Regions from separate parts of the Homo sapiens genome. Here regions 2, 3, 4 and 5 are each linked to region 1. Evidence: promoter capture Hi-C in 16 types of primary human blood cells and fetal thymus (Javierre and others, 2016). All regions are on one chromosome and are shown on one strand. Each heading gives the region's core, a stretch centred on a gene start or on the middle of the fragment in contact. The rest is flanking DNA. Distances are from core to core; before and after follow the strand shown. Region 1 holds the start of CYRIB (CYFIP related Rac1 interactor B). Region 2 overlaps ASAP1 (ArfGAP with SH3 domain, ankyrin repeat and PH domain 1). Region 3 overlaps ASAP1 (ArfGAP with SH3 domain, ankyrin repeat and PH domain 1). Region 4 overlaps ASAP1 (ArfGAP with SH3 domain, ankyrin repeat and PH domain 1). Region 5 overlaps ASAP1 (ArfGAP with SH3 domain, ankyrin repeat and PH domain 1).

The links. The method cuts DNA at HindIII sites, captures the fragments that hold promoters and counts their contacts. A CHiCAGO score of 5 or more calls a contact.
Region 2: a fragment that was not itself captured here is called in contact with the fragment with the promoter of CYRIB in region 1 in 3 of 17 cell types (naive CD8 T cells, fetal thymus and neutrophils); the score reaches 7.1 in naive CD8 T cells.
Region 3: a contact is called between a fragment that was not itself captured here and the fragment with the promoter of CYRIB in region 1, in 1 of 17 cell types (neutrophils). The highest score is 5.9, in neutrophils.
Region 4: a contact is called between a fragment that was not itself captured here and the fragment with the promoter of CYRIB in region 1, in 1 of 17 cell types (total CD8 T cells). The highest score is 5.0, in total CD8 T cells.
Region 5: a contact is called between a fragment that was not itself captured here and the fragment with the promoter of CYRIB in region 1, in 1 of 17 cell types (monocytes). The highest score is 6.7, in monocytes.

Annotation. Positions count from the first base shown.
Region 1 is chr8:130,015,200-130,017,899 of GRCh38, reverse strand. It overlaps CYRIB (CYFIP related Rac1 interactor B), which reads left to right and starts at 1,340. Exons shown (of 14, transcript NM_001353258.2): 1 at 1,340-1,530. RefSeq lists silencers at 1,128-1,187, 1,238-1,307, 1,398-1,587, 1,778-2,047. The HindIII fragment of the contact is 5,812 bases long and covers 1-2,700 here.
Region 2 is chr8:130,352,690-130,355,389 of GRCh38, reverse strand. The region is part of intron 3 of ASAP1 (ArfGAP with SH3 domain, ankyrin repeat and PH domain 1); the gene reads left to right. Among named protein-coding and RNA genes, the nearest start is that of ASAP1-IT1, 58 kb to the right of the region's middle. The HindIII fragment of the contact is 5,460 bases long and covers 1-2,700 here.
Region 3 is chr8:130,369,160-130,371,859 of GRCh38, reverse strand. All of the region lies in intron 2 of ASAP1 (ArfGAP with SH3 domain, ankyrin repeat and PH domain 1), which reads left to right. Among named protein-coding and RNA genes, the nearest start is that of ASAP1, 73 kb to the left of the region's middle. The HindIII fragment of the contact is 8,161 bases long and covers 1-2,700 here.
Region 4 is chr8:130,315,265-130,317,964 of GRCh38, reverse strand. All of the region lies in intron 3 of ASAP1 (ArfGAP with SH3 domain, ankyrin repeat and PH domain 1), which reads left to right. Among named protein-coding and RNA genes, the nearest start is that of ASAP1-IT1, 20 kb to the right of the region's middle. RefSeq lists an enhancer at 484-543. The HindIII fragment of the contact is 460 bases long and covers 1,154-1,613 here.
Region 5 is chr8:130,336,414-130,339,113 of GRCh38, reverse strand. All of the region lies in intron 3 of ASAP1 (ArfGAP with SH3 domain, ankyrin repeat and PH domain 1), which reads left to right. Among named protein-coding and RNA genes, the nearest start is that of ASAP1-IT1, 41 kb to the right of the region's middle. The HindIII fragment of the contact is 6,252 bases long and covers 1-2,700 here.

The sequences.
Region 1 (2,700 bases), core at 91-2,590:
GCATACCCGTGGTCCCAGCAACTCGGGAGGCTGAGGTGGGAGGATCGCTTGAGCCCAGGAATTTGAGGCTGCAGTGAGCTATCGCATCACTGCGCTACCTAGCCTGGGAAACAGAGCAAAATCCTGTCTTAGACAAAAAAAAAAAAAAGAAAGAAAAAAGAAAAGAAATGGAACAACTGGCTCCTAATCAGGTAACTCAGCACTGAGTATGATGTGAGCACACTCCAACCCCCCTATAGCTGGAGGTGGAGGTGGAAAGACAATGGAAGCCTTTGATGTAACCCTTTTGATACCCTGCTAGAGGACAGCAGAAAGATACTTGAGAGAATGTTGTCTATCTTCCCGAGAAATTTCTGGTTGAATGTCAAGATAATGATAGGATGGGCTTCTGGGCCAGGGGAGCAAGGCAGAGGGAAGGAGAGTATCAGTTTCCTAGGCATGTCCTGTTACAGGGAGAAAAACACAGTATTTTCCATTCTAGATCAGGGGAAAGATGAGGTCTCCCATAATACCTGAAACTGGAATTATGGCGAGGAGCTTTTTATGTGGGAATTTCTGTACTAAATTTAAAGTCCTTGGAGAACCGCTTAGGGTAGCACCGACAGCCCGCACCGTCCCCTCACCCCGCTTTATTTTTCCTCTGGCACAGCACTTAGCACCATAGGACCCATCAGATATTTACGGCCTGTCCCCGCTGCCCCTCCCGGGCAGGGATTTTGTTTTGGTTCGCAGCTGCAGCTCCAGGGCCTAGAACAGCCCGGGCACTTAGTAGGCCCAGTAAGTATCTGCGGGAGGGCTGAATGGGTGCGTGGACAGCATTCCTCTCACTGACCCCGCTGCGAGGTGAGCCAGGCAGGGGCTGTCACCATTCCTGAAGTCCAGGTGAGGGGGAAGCGACCCAGGGATGGGAACCTGGCCGGCCTGAAGGTCTGGAGACCGGGGTTCGAGCCCAAGCCCTGCCTGACAGGCAGTGACCTTGGGGGTCACTCTTGCGCCTCTCGGAGCCGGGTTTCCTCCTCGCACAATGAGGGCGATGACCCCCAATCGCAGCGCGCCCCGCGGTGACTTGCCCAAGGTCACCACCGTCCCGGGCCCGTGGCGCCCCGGCTCGGGAGGACACGGGCCAGGCGGGCGCGGGGTTCTGGGGTGGGGGCCGGCGCGGGGCGGTCCCGGGGCGCGGCGCGCGCTGACGCCGGGGCCCCGCGATGCGGCGGGGACTGGGCGCGGGGGGAGGCGCGTCGCGAGGCGAGCGTCCTCCTTTTGTGCGAGCGCCGGCGGCTCGGCTTCTCGAAGGTAAACAGCGCTTCCTCTTCCTCCTCGCCGCGCCTCTTCCTTTTATAGTTATTTCTCGCCTGGCACTCGCCCGGGCTGCTGCTGCTGCTGCTGCTGCCGCCGCGGCGGGGGCAGCTCGCAAACCTGTGGCGGTGACGTGAGCCCCGCCAACCCGGAAACGGCGGCGGCGGCGGCACCGGAGGCTCCGAGGCTCCTGCGCTCCCGCGCCGCGCTCCCCTCGCCCGCCCGGGCCGCCAGGTACGTGCCGGGGCTCTGAAGGCGCCGCCGCCCGGCCGGCCCGCGCGCGCGCCCCTGGATCCGATTTGCCCCCGGAGAGGGCGCGGGGTGCGGGGCGCGCGCGTGATGGGTGCGGGGAGAGGCGGAGGTACCATCCGGGCCGCCGGGCCGGGCGCTGCGGCGGGTGGACAGGGGGCGCCGCCGTGGTGGGGGCGTCCGGGCCGGCGGGCGCGGGGGTCCCGGGGGAGGCGCCTCGAGTGCGCGGGGGGCGGCGGGCGGACGCGAGGGGAGCGCGCAGCGGGGCCGCCGCCCGGGTCCACCCAGCTGCGGAGCCGGCGCCTTGTGCGCCTCGAGGCAGGGGGCGCTCGGGTCGGGGTGGCTGGTCCCTGGCAGACCCTTCCTGCGAGCCGGGTGTCGGTGCGGGGACTGACCCCGGGAGCAGCGCTGGCCCCCGGCCACCTCCCATCAGGGGCTTGGAAGACCAGTCGCATTGGATTTGAGGAACTAGAGGGGGTGAACAAAATCTCCACTGGCCTCAAGACTTCCTCCTGGGGTAGCCACCCGCCTGTGTTTAAAGAGCACTTCCTCTTCGCCTTTTATCTTTTCATTATCTTTCTTTTTAAATGGAAGTTCAGTGTTAGCGGGTGGGTGCCCTTGCAGCCTGCAGGGCTTTCCTGGGGCTGTGTACACACACACTGGGGTTGGGAAAAACCTGTGTGTCCTTTGAAACGTGTGTCCTGTGTCAGGAGTGGAACGAAGGAGGAATCGAGGTCTTACCATGCTGGAGCTACTTGGAGTGTGCCTTTGCTACCCACCCTGCTGCAAGAGGTGGAGGGGTGCGGAGGGATAGAGCTGGGGCTGCGGGGGAGTGTCACATGCACTTTGCAGCTATGTTTAATTCCTGGCCCTGCCGCTTACTAGCTGTGTGACCTTGGGCAAGTCGCTTACCCTCTCTGAGTCTTAGGGTCCCGTCTGTGAAATGGGCTGCTGCGAGTGGGGCCTTGAGAAAACGAGCGTAGATTTCCTGGCCTGCAGGGGGCGCAGTGATAGAAAGTGTCATTGCCAGTCACCTTGAATTTCTGCATCCCCAGCACCTAGAAAGGGTGCGTTGAAGCACGTGGGAAGCACCCCATAGATAATTGTGAGATGAACGAGTGGGTGGTGAATTTTGAGAGGTGAGTCGGTGTGCTT
Region 2 (2,700 bases), core at 23-2,522, 340 kb before region 1:
TTTTTTGCTCTTTAGATCACTAATGCACATACATAGAGCGCAACTGAAAAACTGTTAGATCTCCAAGATTGGAGCCCCAAATTAATCCATACTCTTTCTTTTACTATGTCTCCTTGGTAGAGATTGTGGTGTGTTGTGCAGATGTTGATGCTTTTAGTTAAATCTCTGTGATGAGCACTCTTGGAAGTAGATGAGAAATATATGGTAAGAAGGCTGGGCGTGGTGGGTCATACCTGTAATCCCAGCACTTTGGGAGGCTGAGGCAGGTGGATCACTTGAGGTCAGGAGTTCGAGACCAGCCTGGCCAAGATAGGGAAACCCCATCTCTACTAAAAAATTAGCCAGGCATGATGGCGCATGCCTGTAGTCGCAGCTTCTTGGGAGGCTGAGGCAGGAGAATCATATGAACCCGGGAGGCCGAGGTTACAATGAGCCAAGATCGCACCACTGCACACCAGGTTAGGCGACAGAGTGAGGCTACGTCTCAAAAATGGTAAGAAGAGGCAAAGAGGAGTTTACTTCTGGTTTACTTCTGGGCTTTACCTTTTGGGGCGAAGGGTCACACATGGCTCAGGGGTTCACGGTTTGGCTGGCACACAATGAGTGGCTACCTTGGGGAGGCAGGAATGGATGAGCTGGTGTTCTGCCAAGGTTTCATCCTGGCGTGTGAGTGTTTTCCAAGCAAAAAGCCAGTGTTTTACTTATTCAGCAGTGAAAGCACACTGATGTGTGCCATTTTACTCTTGACAATTTTTAAGTTATGAGTAAGTGACTAGGAGAGCATAAGCGTTTTCCCTAAACGGGAGCAGGCAGGCATTTTAGGACTGCTGTGACCCAGACAGTAGAAGGGACCCTCTATTTAAAGACTTAGAGTGGCTAATACTTAGTACCTTTGTCAGAGAGAGAGTCCAACATGATAAATGGAAGTCTACTTGGTTATTTTATATTGGGCCACATTTTAATTTGGTGACAATGAAGGAGGCAAGTTCTGCTCATTTATTGAGCAGCTGCTCCATACCAGGCCTGCTGTCGACACATGGCATGAATGCTTACATTTACCTCTCATATGAGCTCTCTGAAAGAGGAACATTTATCGTTTCCATTTTATAGAGAAGGAAATTGAGGCCCAGAGAGATGAAATGATTTCTCTCTAAGGTCAAGTGGCTAGTAAATAAAATGGAATTTAAAAATCTCCCTCCCGGCTGGGCGCGGTGGCTCAGGCCTGTAATCCCAGCACTTTGGGAGGCCGAGGTGGGCAGAACACGAGGCCAGGAGATCGAGACCATCCTGGCTAACACAGTGAAACCCCATCTCTACTAAAAATACAAAAAAAAATTAGCTGGGCGTGTTGTCAGGCGCCTTGTAGTCCCAGCTACTTAGGAGGCTGAGGCAGGAGAATGGCATGAACCCGGGAGACGGAGCTTGCAGTGAGCCAGGATCACGCCACTGCACTCCAGCCTGGGCGACAGAGCAAGACTCCGTCTCAAAAAAAAAAAATCTCACTCCCTTCTCTCCGTGAAACAGGCTCTCTCACTCTGTCGCCGAGGCTGCAGTGCAGTGGTGCGATCTCAGCTCACTGCAACCTCTGCCTCCCAGGTTCAAGCAATTCTCTCACCTCTGCCTCCTGGGGCAGCTGGGACTACAGGTGCACACCGCCATGCCTGGCTAATTTTTGTATTTCTAATAGAGACGCAGTTTCATCATGTTGGCCAGGCTGGTCTCAAACTCCCGACCTCAAGTGATCTGCCTGCCTTAGCCTTCCAAAGTGCTGGGATTACAGGCATGAGCCACCACGCCTGGCCCAGAGTTTAGAAATCTTAAAACAGTTGAGACATAAAATAGGTATTCTAAATGTCTACAAAAACATATTTCAGTGGCTTTATAGGGAACATAGGAGACTTTGCTGTCATTGCACCTTCAAGTTTTGGTCTGATTAAAAAAGGTGCCTAAGTTCCTTGGAGGCTTAGTGTTTCTTCATGTTTATATTTCAGAGTTCTTAATAGTGATACTTAAATATACTATTTTTTCCCTGTACTTTCGAAGATTTGGATATGAGTTTTCAGATTTAAATGTGGGAACTCATTTGAGTATAATCCGTGAACAGCATTTGTTCAACACATTTTTGGGGAGGCCCTGCTATATACAAGTCATTTTCCAAGTCCTACTGAGGTATTGGGGTTATCCAGATTGTATTATGGAGAAGCTAGTGGTCTTTAAGAAATAAAGAAATAAGGCTAAAACTCTTTAACAGGGTAGAAAGGGGCAGTTCATAGGGGAGGGAAATAGTATAGAACATTCATCCTAGGAATACAAGTGAAATCACTCAAATTACCATGTAGTCAATATACAGATTGTTCAGTGCCTCCTATGTGCCCAGCAGTGTGCTAGGCCCAGGGATACAATGAAGAAGAACCCTGCCCTCAAAAAATGCAGCCTAAAAGTTTTCTTATGGAAACTGGAAATCAAGTTTGGGTCTGGCATTAGAGGCTTTTCTTAATGTATTCACCTGGTGTGTTCAGTTATTTCTGAAGATATAGAAATGTTTGATGAAATGAATGAAGATACAGAATGTAGATTCAGTATCAAGCTCTATCTCATAACAGTAACATTCCTACTACATGCAAACCCTATACATACTATTATTTAATACCTTTTTTCACCCTACTATCATCAATGGCTCCATTTTATAGATGAAGAAAT
Region 3 (2,700 bases), core at 149-2,648, 350 kb before region 1:
AAACCCAAATAACATTAGCAATTATGTTTGTTTGTTTGTTTTCCCTCTCTGACCAGAGAAGTCTGGAGGTAGTTCAAAGCTAGTCAGTGCCTCCATGGTTATCAGGAGCCCAAGCCTTTTCTGTTTCCCTGGTTCTACTCTCTTTATCATATTGCTTTAGGATCCCAAATGGTTGCTGGAGTGTCAGCCGTCACAACCACATTACAGTAGGCAGCAAGATGCAATAAGAAGGGAAGGATAACAGGAGTCCTCTTCCAGCTGTGTTAGCCCTTTTTAAGGCACTTTACCAAAACTCCTACATAGCATTTCTGCTTACATCTCACTGGCTAGATTTAGCCATATAGCCACCTTAGCTGTAAGGGAGGCTGGAAGATGAGTCTTTTAGCTAAACACATTGCTGCCCCGAATCAAACTGGGGCTCTGTTAGTGAAGAAACGGGGACTACATAGCAGGTACATAACTGGTAGTCCTGCCACATCAGCAGAGTACCATTTGTACAGAGAGTGCGGTTTAGTGCAAAGGGCTTGAACTTTGAAATTAGATAGACTTCTGTTTGAATCTTAACTCTACCACTTACTCATTTCAGCACCCTAGGTCTAGCACTTAACCTCTCTGAGTCTCAATTTCCTATCTATTAAACATGAGGAGAATAATAGCTACTTTGTAGGGTTGCAGTGAGGGTTAAAGAAAATCATAAATAAATTGCCTTGTATATAGTAGATACTAAATCATCGTCATTCTAGTTGTTATTAACAGGTAAGGTATGCCTTCCATCTTCACCACCATAGTGGTTATTTTAAAATTGAGATAATTCATATAAAATTTGCACTTTTAAGATATACAATTCAGTGGTTTTTAGTGTATTCACAAAATGATAGAACTATCACCATTGTCTATTTCCAGAACATTTTTGTCACTCCTCACAAGAAACCCTGTACCCACTGGTAGTCATTGCACATTACCACTTCCCCCACAGCCCCTGATAACCACTAATCTGCTTTCTGTCTCTATAGATTTGCCTAGTCTGGACCTTTAAGGTATCATACAGTATGTGGTCTTTTGTATCTGACTTTTGACTTAGCATAATGTTTCCAAGTTTCATCCATGTTGTAGCATGTGCCAGTACTTTATTACTCTTTATGGCTGAATAATATTCCATTGTATGGATATACCACATTTTGTTTATCCATTTGTTTGTTCATGAACGTTTGAGCTGTTTCCATTTTTTTGAATGTTAAGAATGATGCTGCTGTGAACATTGGTGTACAAGGTTTTATGTGCACATATGTTTTCATTTCTCTTGTGTATATACCTAGGAGTGTCTTAGTCAGTTTGGGCTGCTATAACAAATTACCCTAGACTGGATGGCTTACAAACAACAAATGTATTTCTCTCAGTTCTGAAAGCTGGAAGTCTGAGATCAGGGTACCAGCATGGTTGGATTCTGGTGAGGCCCTCTTCCCTTGCAGGCTGCTGACCTCTCATTGTGTCCTTATATGGCTGAAAAATAGCTAGAGAGCTGCTCTCTGTTTTTTTTGTTTGTTTGTTTGTTTTTGAGATGGGGTCTTGCTCTGTCACCCCCCAGGCTGGAATGCAACGGTGTGATCTCAGCTGACTGCAACCTCCGCCTCCTGGGTTCAAGCTATTCTCCTGCCTCAGCCTCCTGAGTAGCTAGGATTATATGTGTGCGCCACCATGCTTGGGTAATTTTTTGTATTTTTGGTAGAGACGGGGTTTTGCCATGATGGCCAGGCTGGTCTTGAACTCCTGATCTCAGGTGATCTCCCCACCTCAGCCTCCCAAAGTGCTGGGATTACAGGCGTGAGCCACTGTGCCCGGCCTGGGGTCTCTTTTATAAGGCACTGTTCCCATTCATGAGGGCTCCACCCTCATGACTTAATTACCTCTCAAAAGTGTCACGTTGTAATACCATCACATTGGGTTAGGATTTCAACATGTGAATTTGGGTGGGACACATGCATTCAGTCCACAATAGTAAGCAGTTGCTGGGTCAGATGATAACACTTGGTTTAACCTTTTGAGGAGTTGCCAAATTGTCTTTCAAAGCTACTCCACCATTTTACATTCCTACCAGCAATGTGGTGGGTTCCAGTTTCTTCACATCCTTGACAATACTTGTCAATTTCCATCTTTTTTATTACAGCCATCCTAGTGGGTGCAAAGTGGCATTTCATTGTGTTTTTGATTTGCATTTTCCTAATGTTTAGTGATGTTCAGCATCTTTTCATGTGCTTATTATCCACTTGTATATCTTTGGAGAAATGTCTATTTAACCCCTTTGTCCACTTTTAAATTAGTTATTTATCTCTTTATTGTTGGGTTGCAAAAGTTTATATATTTTGAATACTAGGCCTTTATCAAATACAAGTTGAGCATTCCCAATCTGAAAATCCCAAATGTGAAATTCTCCCAAATCCAAAACTTTTTGAATGCCAACATGAGATGCTGACACTTTTGCTTTCTGATATTTCATTGTATACAAACTTTGTTTCCTGCTCAAAATCATTAAAAATATAGTATAAGATTACCTTCAGGCTATGTGTATAAGGTTTATATGTAACATAAGTGAATTCTGTGTTTAGTCTTGGGCTCCATCCCCAAGGTGTCTCATTATGTATATGTAAACATTCCAGAAATAAAAAAAAATATCTGAAACACTTCTGGTCCCAAGCATTTCAG
Region 4 (2,700 bases), core at 134-2,633, 300 kb before region 1:
TTTTGGTAAAAGTGACTAATGGTGCAGCAACCATTTCTTCACCAGCCCTTCCTCAGCTCTCCTCTCCACTCCCTCCTCCTCAGGATTATAGGGTCCTTCTTGCTGCTGTATCAGGTCTCAGCTCATTAGTTGTTTGAGGAAAGGGCCTGCCATGCCATGTTCATCACTTCAGCCACAAAGGATGGCTTTTACTCAGCAATCATGTGCTGAACATCTGCTACATTCCACTCTTAGCACTAGTGAAACAAACGCGTAGCAACAGAGCCCCAGGCCTCAAAGCTCACAATGGAGGTAACTGGTTTCCAGGTTAAGTGCACTAAACTGTGTGGAAGGTGTTATGATAGTACCTCTACAGGTTCTGATGGAAGCATCAGTGATGGATTTGGCTTTTCCATTTGGGAGAGGAGGCTATAAAAAACCTTCCTGGAGGACGTGGGCTCATTCTGATTCACAGACAGGTCCAGCCCCTTCACTTCTTACTTTGAACTACTCCATCTGGAATCATAGAAACTCATTAGCAGCTAAGTGAGTCGTAGACCCTGTTCCTACAGTTTCAACAAACCCTGATGGTGGCATTTCAGTTTATCGTAGAGGTTTCTTTTCCCCTACAAGGGTCATTCTCTCTTGCCCAATTTTGGCTGAGAAGGGAGGAATATCATGGCCGTTTTGGCTGTATGGTGTTACTGTATAATGATATGGGGATTGGTGAGTGAAAAATAAAATGAACCCTCACTTGCTTAGGTACCAGTTTTATGTAAGAAGAAACTCACAGCTTTTGCACATTATTTGAGATTTGCTTCTTCTGTTTAACATATTTGTGGTACTTTCCTAAAAAGTTTTGTTATAGACAGCTGTAGAGATTAAAAAAAAAAAAAAAGCATGATGTGAAACTAAAAGCAAAATAGGAATGAGTCTCAAGGTGTATAATGTACCAAATGATAGTAGGGCCTGGAACATTCAACAGCATAGCCTGTACTGACATAAGGTTAAGAAACATTGGCCTTCAAGTCACTTTAGACTCTTCTTAATGAGTTGTCGTGTTGGAGAGCCTGCACCGCATTTTGTTATTTGCCATTAGTTGATCTTTGGCCAGTATTAATTATTTACATTGAGCTGCATATTACAGGGGGAAAATCCCAAATAAACAGAAGCTTAAATGCGATAGTTTATTTCTCTCTCCTCTAAAAGGAACTTAGACATAGGCCTGGAATGCCAGGTTTGTGGCGTCCTTTGGGATTCAGGCCTCCTTCCTTTTGATCTCACCTTCCTCAGCACATGACTTCCATCCTCAAGGTCACCTCTCAGCTTAAGATTGCTGCCAGAGCTCCAGCTGTCATTTCTGAGATGGAGAATCTAAAATGGAAGGGCAAAATTGGGCTTTCCCAGCTGAGCCACTTCTTTTCCAGAACCCATATAAATAACACTAGTATTTATTGACCACATTTGACTGTAAGAGAGGCTAGGAAATGGAAACTTGTATTTTCAAAATATTCTGGTAAAAACCAGGATTCTAGTACTAAGGAGATGGGGAGAATGGATGTTGGGGCAGCACATCAGCAGTGTCTGTCACAAGGCCACATCAGGAATACTTGGAGTAGAAAAGAGATAAAGCTTAGTGAAGTGAGGAGGTGGAGAAGTTGATGTTTACCAATATGGATACCAAAACTGCTGAGAGTGATGTTGCAGTAGAAAGAATTGTGATTAGATGGAAAAGTTATTGAAGTATTAGTGTCCTGGAGCTCAGTAGAGAAAGATGGTTGGCATAGCCCTCAGAAGAGGAGACTGGTATGAAGATGGCATAATAGTGGTCACAGGTGAACTTGTGGATGGGAACAGACAGTAGAAAAGGGACAGCATTCTTTGAGAATAGGTCTTGAGGAAAGGGAATACCTTTTAAGCTGAAAAGACGGAAGTGCTTTTCTCTCCTAGCCATGGAATAGATGATGAGTTGGTCCTCTGCAGAGAAGGGACCCGAAGGGCACAGGCGAAGGGAGTGGCCAATGCCAGTGGGAAGATGAGCCATGAAACCAGGTAGAGGGAGTAGATAAGTGGGATTTATATCTAGGCCTAGGCTAGTAGCTGTATTACCAAGAAAAAAGGAAGCTAGCACTTGGAAGTTAGGGAGAATGGGAATGATGGATGGGCAGAAGTGTTGTGAATTGGTTTGGGTGCTCAGTGTTGCTTTTTTTCTTTTGCATTTTCCAATTTCCTCTGTACGCCATACACTGTAATAGTCATTCCATTTAAAATTGCAGCTGGGTAGACCAGATATTGCTAGGGGGCATATCTGTCATTGAACTTGGGAAGCAGGGGACCCTGCTAATGGAGGCACTCCAGACACCTCATGGGAGCACAGCTGGGAAGCAACAAGTGGTCTATTTCTTGGCTCAGCCTAATTCAGACTCGCCTCTTCTCCTTAGAGAAAGGAAGAGGAGCCTCTTCCTTATGCTCTGCTCAATGTGTAGGGTTTTTCTTCCTATTTGTTGCAATTCTGAACATTATTAGTGGATAGTCCTGGTTTTGAGACTTACCCCTGCCTTAGACCCCCTGTTCCTAGCTCTTATTTCCTGGGACCCAGTTTCATTTTTCTCTTTCTGGATCTCAACTCTCATCCCTGACAGGGCATGATCATTATGTTATATGATCTCTCTTGGTTATATACAAAGAATGTACCAGTTTGTGGAGTATTCATAGACTTTT
Region 5 (2,700 bases), core at 159-2,658, 320 kb before region 1:
AGAGTCGCTGTATCTGTATTTAAGTTTCCTTAGGATTCCTTGAGCTTGAGGGTTCATTCCCCCTCTCTCCTCAGGTGCTGTCTTCCTGACTGCTGCACTTCTTAGGTGGGGAATAAGCTGCTCATTAGTGCCCAGGTGCTTTTGTTACTCTGCCCCCATCTTGTGATTTTGATTGTCTGCCCAGCAGCCCAATTCTGGACCAACCAGTGTGCAGAAAGAGCCCAGCAACTGCTGCTCTGGGGGAAATGCCCAGGAAACAGTCCTCAGAAGGATTGTGATCCACTGAAGCAACAAGGCAGCCAGAGCAGCAGTAGGAAGTCAGAATTTCTGCTGGCTCTCTGTGTGGAGCATTGGTGTGGCAGGGGAGATGGGATTGTCCTCAGCATTCAGCTGAGGAAACCAGGCCCACAGATGTCATGTAGTTTGAAGGTGATGGAACCGGAGCCACTGTTAGCCCAGTGTGTACATTTTCCAGCACACCCCATTGCCTGCTGTTAATAAAAGAAATGGAAAAAATTCCACACAGATGCATGACTAGCTAGAGTCATTAAAGATACTGCAGAGTGTTTGCTGGGATGACTGTGGGCAGTAAAGCTATTGGGGAGTAGTCAGGATAATGTTCTTTTCTTGGAAGGAGAGTCCTGTCTTTATTTACCTGACACGTATCTTCTGTTGTTGCTGGCTGTTCTTTGTTGAATACTTCCCCTATGCAGAATACTTTAATTGTAGCAGCTAATTTTTATTGAGTATTTGCTGTATGTCAGGTAGTTAACTACATCCACTGATGTAAACCTCATGACCACCATTTAGGTAGGTACTGTTAAGCCTGCTGCTGCCACTTAACTGTGCAGTTTTGGGCAAGTTACTTTACTTCTCTGTTACTTAGGCATCTGCTGCCAGCATCACCTATAAATATATACCTTTTTCTGAACTGTAATATTTGTATTGTACTATTGCATGGGTCTGTTGTGAGGGTGAGGTGAACGAATGCATGTAAAGCATCACAGGCTCCTTAGGTCGTCTTATCCCCCAGTGCCCAAATATGTGATCTAGGGCAAGCCACTTCACCACTCTGAGCCTGTTCTTCCTCTGTAAAATGAGTGTAATATGTATTTCAACGATTGTTGTGAAGCAAAAATGAAGTAATGGATTAGGCATCTTACACTCCACATTGGTATGTAGTAAATGCACAATAGAAATAGTTGCTATAATTGCCATCCCCATGGGGAACTGGCTGTCACTATTTTATATGTAGGTTCGATTTTAGGATCAAGGGAGTTTGCTACCAAGTCTGGCCATTGCCTCTTCTCTGTTCTGACTTAAGAGAATGTTTTGGTGGATGGGTGAGATTTCAAGTTGAGAGGAGAGGAAAGTAAAAGACTTATAAAAATGGAAAGAAATGCATGAAAACAGATGTATTACAGAAGGTCTTTGAGAAGTTGTGGATGAGGTTTGGCTAGCCTTTAGTACTTCAATTTTCATGGGAAGGAGAGAAACCTCTTCCTTCACCCCCATCTATACATAACCAACTTTTATTTCCTGATAGGATTATGTAACAATTTTTTTCTGTTAATTATCATGGACATGTTAGGATTTGATTATTTGGAGAGGACTAGCATGCTTAATTAGCGTTCAGAATTTACAGTTTATAACAGGGCTCTCTTTGCAGTGTACTCATTTTTGTTACACTGGAGACTTCTAAAAAAGCAAAAAGTTGCCTTGATTATCAATGAGGAATCAAATGCAGGTGGTTGGTGGTACAGGAAATCAACCCAATTACTGATTAATATGAGTGATAGAGTGATTTTCCTATGATCTTATTTGAAGCATGCACCACTCAATTGGAGTTAAGATGATAGTTACAAGTAAGCAGATCCTAAATCAAACTTAAATGTAATTTAACATGGAAAACATGAACATCTTTTAAAATATTTTTGAATTAATCTCACCCTTTTACCAACCTGTGGCATTATTTTCTTGCTGTTGATGCCCAAGCCTTTCCTTATTTCCTCATACAAACTCTGATGTGAGTCCTGACTGGGTTAGCTATTTGTGATTGTCCCTATTGTAAAGATATGTAAAGTATGGTCTGGGGTTCCCTGTGGGAAGTCCCAGGATCCTTCCAGGGGTTCTGAGAGATCAAAACTATTTTTATACTAAGGTCAAGACATTTTTTGCCCTTTTCTCTCTTATTCTTTCATAAATTTATAGTTTATGAGACTGGAGCTGTTTGGGAGAAGTAGTTTCTTGAAATGTTCTCTGGTGGTTTCATTGGGAGTTTAGTATCTTTTTAGCTTTTCTGCTAGGTCTGACATCTATCTGGCTTACCGTCTTTTAGAGACAATGCAAATAGGTACTTTTTTGTCACTGTTCGGTGACTTATGTCAAAATGAAGACTGTCAAAAAGTATTTTTCCCCCTGGTTGGCTTTACCATGCTCCTCTCAGATTGTAAGAGTATGGCATCTTTTCTGAATCTCTTTGATGCATCACATGATAGATGCCGACACCATTCATCCTGCCTTAGTCTTTATTTCTTTTACCCATGTAAAGTGCCTAATACCAAAACTGGTACATAGTAGACATTCATCACATATTAGTTCCTTTGGTTTATTGCCTTGTCTTTATCCAGCTTGCTTTGAATGTGTTTCTCAAACTTCAATGTGCATACAAATCACCTGGAGAGCTTATTATGTGCTGAT